Regions from separate parts of the Homo sapiens genome. Here region 1 is linked to region 2. Evidence: promoter capture Hi-C in human tissues and cell types (Jung and others, 2019). All regions are on one chromosome and are shown on one strand. Each heading gives the region's core, a stretch centred on a gene start or on the middle of the fragment in contact. The rest is flanking DNA. Distances are from core to core; before and after follow the strand shown. Region 1 has its middle 28 kb from the start of ANKRD62. Region 2 holds the start of TUBB6 (tubulin beta 6 class V).

Region 1 (3,706 bases), core at 575-3,074, 240 kb before region 2:
CTGAGGCCAGGAAGCCCTGGGGGTCCTGTGGGAAGTCCCTCTCTCCAGGCAGAGGTGAGACCAAGTTCTCCCCATCGCCTCCCACTTCCTCCAGGGCCTCAGCTCACTGCCCTAGGACACAGGCCCTCATCCCTCACCAGCCCTATCCGAGTCACTCACCAGTCACAGGACTGGAAGGCCTGGCCTGTGGCTCCAGCTTGGCATTGCTGACCCTGAAGATCTGAGGGGACCACAGGGGTGAGGAGGAGGAGCGTCCCCACGCCACACCCCTCTCATGGCCCCTCTCCCTCTCCCCAACCCCAGCCCTGCCCTGCTATGATTCACACTTAGCCCGGGAGCCCTTCAGACCACCAGCGCCAGTCCTCCCTGCTGACCCTGTGGGACCCTGTCTCCCCCAGGGCACCCACAGCATTGGCAGCATCTGAAACACACAGAAGGAGTGTGCATGTGTGAATGCACTGTGTGTGTGCAGTGTGTACGTGTGTGCAGTGTGTGTACATGTGTGCAGTGTGTGTACATGTGTGTGCAGTGTGCATGTGTATGCAATGTGTGCATGTCTGTGCAGTGTGTGTACAGTGTGAGTGTGCAATGTGTGTACAGTGTGTGTGTACAGTGTATGAGTGTGTAGTGTGTGTGTGTGTGCAGTGTGCCTTACTCCTGAAGGGCAGTGGAGGGGGTGTGAACTGGGGCAGGGGTTCAAAGTAGAAGGGGTGAGGCAGGAAGAGGAGCCAAACCCCAGGAGCCTCTCTAACATGGCCTCATGCTCAGACATAGGTCTTTCCTCTGCTGCACTGGACCACGGTCACAGCCACTCTTGCTTCACTGGAACACTGAGATCTGTCTTTGTTCCTGAAAGCACATCCCTGGAGGTGGAGTACGGACGGAATTATAACAATTCTCACTTTCTAGTGATTTGCCACTTAGGAAGTAATTTGCTTAGAGATTTTTATCTCATTACATTTTTATTTCATTATATCATGAAGTTCATGTAAGAATGAGTAGGATGAAAGCTTATGCAAGCCTGTTAGAATTTCATATAAACCAGAGAACTGATCCATTACAGAAGCAGAGTGTAGTAAAAGTCTGAAGTCAAGTTTAAGCAGTTTTCTGGGCAAATGCAATGCTTATGAGATGGTGCAGGAAACTCCTATTCATTTAGCTTTGAAATCACTGAAATCACAGTTACTGGAAATGTCTTCTATAGTCAACTTTTATGAGAAAGAGACAGAAGACAAATAAACCAATGGGTATCAGAGGTTTGTTTTTAAAGTAGCTTTCAGAGCGTATCATGGAGCCCGTTCAAAGGCAGCTCAGAATTTCAGACTTACACAGTAAAGGTCTATTATTCTTAATGAAGAACACGGCCATATGCTTAAGTATTTTCTAAATTGTCTAAAACAGATGGCTTTATTTTGTATAGTTTTGGTGTTCTGTGTGTTATAGTTCTTTGAAAAGTAAAATCTATATATGGATTTTATAATAACTGCATTTATGCAAATACGCAGTCAGCCAGCTTGCCTCTCCATGCACTCACAGCTTATGAGTCCTGTCTGAACTCCCCGCCTTCCTGCCCATCCCCTGCTGCACATCTGGCCCCAGGATAGTCGTCTTCTGTTTCGTCTGCTCTCAGAGTCCTCTGTCTGTTCATGCCATGCTCCTCCACCAGTGCTCAGGGTCTTCTCACTCAGCTACTAAGGAATCTTGAAACGTCCTTTCCTCTGTGTTGTCAGCCTCTGCTCAGCCCCTGGTTCCTACCCTTTAGTTTATAAGGACTCCCATGAGTCTTGCGCTAAAGGGCCACCTTGTCCTTTGGCCTCACCTCATCTCTTTGTCTGTCTCACCTCCACCTGCATTCTCATCCCTTTCCATCTCCGTTTTTTTTCTGGCTTTTTAAAAGAGAAGTCTGTCCTCATTGTCTCCCCTTCTCTACCTTTCATTTAGTTCACAACTCACTGCTCCATCACACTTATCTTTTCCACAATTCCACTGAAACTTTTTTGATACACGTCACCAATTTTCTCCAAAAGTCCTGTGATGAATGATCACCTCTAATCAAAGCTGGCCTCTACTAGATTTGACTCCCTCTTTCTTAAAACTCCTCCATGCACATCTTTTGTTTGCTTCTTTGTTTGTTTGTTGAGATGGAGTTTCACTCTTGTTGTCCAGGCTGGAGTGCAATGGCAGGATCTTGGCTCACTGCAACCTCTGCCTCCCAGGTTCAAGCAATTCTCCTGCCTCGGTCTCCCGAGCAGCTAGAATTACAGGTGCCCACCACCACGTCAGGCTAATTTTTGTATTTTTAGTAGAGACAGGGTTTCATCATGTTGGCCAGGCTGGTCTCGAATTCCTGACCTCAGGTGCTCCGCTCCCCCTCGGCCTCCCAGACTGCTGGGATTTCAGGCCTGAGCCACCGTGCCTGGCCTGCACATTCTCATACCTCCTTTTGTTGTCTTAAGTAGTTCCTCTTTCTTGATCTGCTCTTTAAATATTGTTAATTTCCCCCAGATTCTATGATTGGCCATCTTGTGTCTCTAAATACTCTTACTGAAGTAGCAGAAAAAGAACACAAAACTTGAAGTCATGGAAACCTGGGTATGAATGAGTTGTAAGAGCATGTTCACTATATTTTCAGCAAAATTGCATGAAGGCTGTGTCTGAGTTTTCTCATCACTTTTTTTTTTTTTTTTTTTTTTTTACCAAAAAACCAAAACCAGCTTCCATTTATCGATGGGCCCCACCCCCTGACGTCCTGGGGAGAGGGGCCCCCCAAAGAGCCTTTCTCTCTGGGACAAAATACAAATGGCAGAAAGGGTCCATACAGAAAAGAACGTCTCTGAGGTCCTTGCGTTTCTAATAAAATGGTAAGAATCTTTCGTGTGGGGCCTCCCAGCTGGGCAAGCCTTGACTGGCCAGGAGTCCAGGTGCCCAAGGTGTGACCTCAGCCCCTCACCCTGAGCAGGGAGGCTGGGCAGAAGCCTAGGCCCGCAGAGGCCCGGGGCTGCCGCCCCATCACACACTCATGGTCATCCCTGGCGAGTACTGGCCCGCCGCTGTCACGGTCTTGCTCTGGCCCCCCGGCCGCCCCGCCGGGGCCTGCCCGCCAGGCCCCTCCCGCCTGACACCGCCCTGGAGGGGGGAGAGTCGAAGCAGTCGCTTACGCTTTCGCTTGGAAACAGGTGCAGGAAGGTCCCGGCGGCCGCCATCTCGCCGTCGTCCCGCGGGGTGCCCGGGGCGTTGCTCAGGCCGGCCACGGCGCCGGGGGAGCTCTTCGGCAACCCGTCCATGTCGCCCGAGCCCAGGGATCCGCTTACGTGGTGAGGCTCCATCGCGCTCATGGCGGCCATGGGGCCCTCCGGGCCAGGGCCGAGCGGGAAATTAGCCCTGCCGGCACCCGGCCCGATGGGGTTCATGATAGTGTACATGTTTTCACTGGAGTTGGTAGAATCTCCAGGGCTAGGCATGATGAGGTGTTCCAGGGGGCCCACCTCCTCCTGGGGGTCCCGTGTAGCTGCCAGGGGATGAGGAGGAGTAGGGGATCGAGTTTCCACTGGGGCTGGCCCACGGGCCACGAACTCCTGGGCCCATGTTCATGGCAGGCAGGCCTGGGCCGGCAAGGGAGTTGGGTGGGGGTCGCATGCCGCCTCCATAGCTCTGGGGCCCCACGCTGGCCATGCCGCGAGGAGGCGTCACCCTCCGCATTGGGCCG
Region 2 (3,578 bases), core at 932-3,431:
ACAAACAGCCTCGCCCAGGAGGAGTGAGGGCCACAGATCGGGAGGGTAGGGGGCCCAGAGCCTGGAGAGCCCCAGGCCGGGCTCACAGGTCAGGGTTTCACCTGCCGGCTCCCAGAAGGGAGTGGCCAACAGACACCAGGGAAGTCAGGGTTGGGATTCAAAGAGAGGCCAAGGCTGCAGAGAGACTGGGAGCCACTTTAGGAAAGAAACGTGAATTCAGGCTTTGCACAGCAGAACTGTCCCCATGTCCTGGGGAGGCCTTGGTTCATTCTGCGGGGAAATCCCTTGTGTCTTGCGGGGCCCCGCCTCTGATGAGAGGGAAGGGAGATAAGCTTTGCAGGGGGAAGGTTTCCTCCCGGTCTCCTCACTCTTCGAGCACTGAGTTTCTCCAGACAAAGCGCACTCCGCGGGCACCAATCCCTGCAGACAGCGCAGAGCGCACAGCGAGCAGGAGCCCAGAAACCAGCAGGTCGGCTTGTCCCTTGTCAAATCCAAGTGACAACGGACTTCCGGAAGCCACGCTGACACCTACTTTCTGGCTCGATCAGACCCCTGGACTTAAATTCCAGCCCAAGGGCTAGCACTGAAAGGGTGGCTATTTCAGCAAACGACCAAAGCTTCTAAAGTAGACACTTTCTTTTAAACCACTTGATGGCTGGATTTCTTAGAGAGAGAGACTAAAGCTGGAGGAAGGGTTCTTCCAGGGATGGCACAGGCCCTCCGCTCTCGGGCTCCCCACACTAGACTTCGGGCCGGCAGGATGGGTTAAGGTAGCACTCGTTGGAGTCAATAATTAAGCAATGGAAACAAACAGCCTAAATAAGGGTGTTGAGGACTCAGGAGAAGGTGGCTGATTAATCTCAGGCTCATAGTTTGAAATGGGAGCGCAGGGGCTGGGCTGTGGCCTCCTCATCTGCTCCCTGGGCGTGTGGCTGTGTAAAGAGGTGTGGGGACCCACAAGAAGGCCGAGGAGCAGCACTGGGGTGGAGAGAGCAGTGGGGAGGCGGGGACCCAAGGGTTAAAAAAAAAAATTCCTCAATTTGGAAACATTTGCAAAACTCCAGAAGAAAAACTTTTAAAAGTTCTCCACTCCCTTCCAAACGTACAAACATGCACACACACAATTAGGAATTTCCCAAAGTTTTCATCTGTCTAAAAAGAAAGTGCCAGTGCAAATTACAGAACATCGTCGCTTCCTCATGTGCGGCGTTTCTACGGGCCTGGGAGGGGACGCAGAGGCTACCCCGGTGGTCCCAGCCTGCAGCGTTCACGTGAGGAAACTTCCGCAAAAGCCCTGATGCATGCACATTCTGACTGCAGAGGCCAGAGCATCCCGCATTTTGGAGGCTGAAAGGCTCCCCTAGGATAACCTTTTCCGTTAACAGAGGAGTCCGCTGAAGCGCAGAGCTAACTGAAAACAGCTAGAATTAAAATCCAAGTCACCCGGCCGGCATCAGCAGTCATTCCTTTCCACCACACAAAACTGGCCAGGAAGACGGACTCTGGCGCGCCCTCCCAGGCCGAAGCGCATTTCTTCGCTAACGCGCGAGGAGTAGGCTGCATAGACCCGGCGCAGGAGGTGTTCATTTTCGGATCCAGCCCTGTAGTCACTTTAGCTAAACCCGGTTCCAAAGGGGTGGGAGTCGTCGGAGAGGAATGGCCTCTGTATCTCCGGAGACGGAAACACCAGGACGAAGAGGCCCTAAGAACGTGTGCCCGGGGTGCGACCGGGGGGTGGGGGGCAGGGGGCAGAGACCCTGAAAAGCTCCACCGCCGAACCCCAGGGCAGTGTCCCGGCTTGGCTGGACTGGGCGCGGGCGGCTGCAATGCTCCCGGGCGCGGCGCTGGGACCCCGCGGGCCACGTCGGCTCCGCTGCCCCGACGCCAGGGCCCGACTCGCGTCTCCCTCTGGCGGGGCACCACAAGGGGCAGCGAAACGGTGGTGGGGGCGGGCGCCGCGCTCCTTCCCGTCTCCTCCCCGCCAGCTCCGGGCCCGTCCTTTTCCGCCCGGCTCCCGGCAAGGGTCCCCCGACTGGCGCCCGCGCGTCCTCCCTCGGCTGCTGCAGGCCGGGCCGCGGCGTCGAGCGGGGGCGGCGGGGCGGGGCCCGCAGCCATTGGCGAGCGGCGGGGCGGGGGCGGGGGCGCGGAGGGTCGGCCCCGGGACGCGCGCAGCCGGCCCGCAGTTGCCGCTGTCGTCCGCAGAGCCAGTTCCTAGCGCAGAGCCGCGCCCGCCATGAGGGAGATCGTGCACATCCAGGCGGGCCAGTGCGGGAACCAGATCGGCACCAAGGTGGGCCTGGCGCGGTGCAGGGCCTCTCCGCGGGTCGGCTGCTGGCGGGCCCCGGGTCTCCCGGCGCGACCCCCGCCGGGGCGCGCACCCGCTGTGCGCCCCTGGGTCCTCGGAGCCCGGTGCGGACCCGCGAGGGCCGCAGGGAGGGAGCGCCCGGGGCGTGGCCGGCCGGGGACCTTCTACTCTTCGCTCCCCACCCCCATCCCAACTGGGAGCGGCTGCCGGCGGCTCAGGCGCGCCTGGAATTCGGCCGCCGGGGCGCCTGGGGTGGGCGCGGGTGGCGGCGTCCCGGGCTCTGGGTTCTGAGCGTCTGTCCCCCCGCCTTGCCCTGCCCAAGTTTTGGGAAGTGATCAGCGATGAGCACGGCATCGACCCGGCCGGAGGCTACGTGGGAGACTCGGCGCTGCAGCTGGAGAGAATCAACGTCTACTACAATGAGTCATCGTGTGAGTAGCAAGGCCGCCGCGCCCTGCCCGGCCGGGACCCGCGTGGACGCTCCGGCGCCGCCTCTTAGCGCGGCGAGTTTGCTTCGGGAAAAGTTCTCTCGGGGTGTAGCAGGATGCCCGGCCACTCCCTTCGCTCCTCCGGGGCGGGAAATCCGCCGTCAGTTTATTCAAACAGCTCGATTCAGCCTATCCTGAGGGTCTGAGCGCTTGAACGGGACCACCCGTTAGCGTTGTGAAATCAACGTAGCGGTTCCTGCCCAGCCTTCTCTGTCTAGCCGGGCGCGGTGGCTCAAGCCTCTAATCCCAGCGCTTTGGGAGGCCGAGACTGGAGGATCATTTGGGGCCAGGAGTTCAGGACCAGCCTGGGCAGCATAGGAGACCACCCCCCGCCCCCCTCCCGCCCCGATCTCTACAACAATTTTAAAATTAGCCGGGCTTGGTGGCCCACCCCTGTAGTACCAGTTAACTGAGGGCTTGAGCTCAGGAGGTCGAGGCTGCAGTGAGCTGTGATCGCGCCACTGCACTCCAGCCTGGGTGACAGAGCGAGACCCTGTTAGAATAAATTAGAGCGTTTCTCAAGGATCCTTGGGAAAAACAAAGCTTCCCCCCCCCCCCCCCCAGTTTAAAACGTATCTCTTATTGGGGATTCTTGGCTAAAAATTTGAGAAACGCTCTCTTAAGTGACTTTTCTGGTCCCTTGCAGACCTCTAAAAAGACTTTAACCTCCCTGGAAGCTGAAACTCCAGGCAGTTCTCAGCAACGAGTGGAGTTTTATTCATTTACGCAGCAATGACAAAAGGCTGGGAACATCAGGGCATGGAAGATGAAATTTCTAGAGGACA

Evidence for each region. The method cuts DNA at HindIII sites, captures the fragments that hold promoters and counts their contacts. A contact is called where the count stands out against the background at its distance.
Region 1: a fragment that was not itself captured here is called in contact with the fragment with the promoter of TUBB6 in region 2 in 1 of the 25 tissues and cell types used here (H1 embryonic stem cells).

The regions. Positions count from the first base shown.
Region 1 is chr18:12,064,035-12,067,740 of GRCh38, forward strand. It overlaps the pseudogene LOC646044. Among named protein-coding and RNA genes, the nearest start is that of ANKRD62, 28 kb to the right of the region's middle. The HindIII fragment of the contact is 4,563 bases long and covers 1-3,706 here.
Region 2 is chr18:12,306,060-12,309,637 of GRCh38, forward strand. TUBB6 (tubulin beta 6 class V) reads left to right here and starts at 2,182. Exons shown (of 4, transcript NM_032525.3): 1 at 2,182-2,290; 2 at 2,628-2,736. The coding sequence starts at 2,234. RefSeq lists silencers at 1,668-2,157, 2,248-2,347, 2,368-2,717. The HindIII fragment of the contact is 9,027 bases long and covers 1-3,578 here.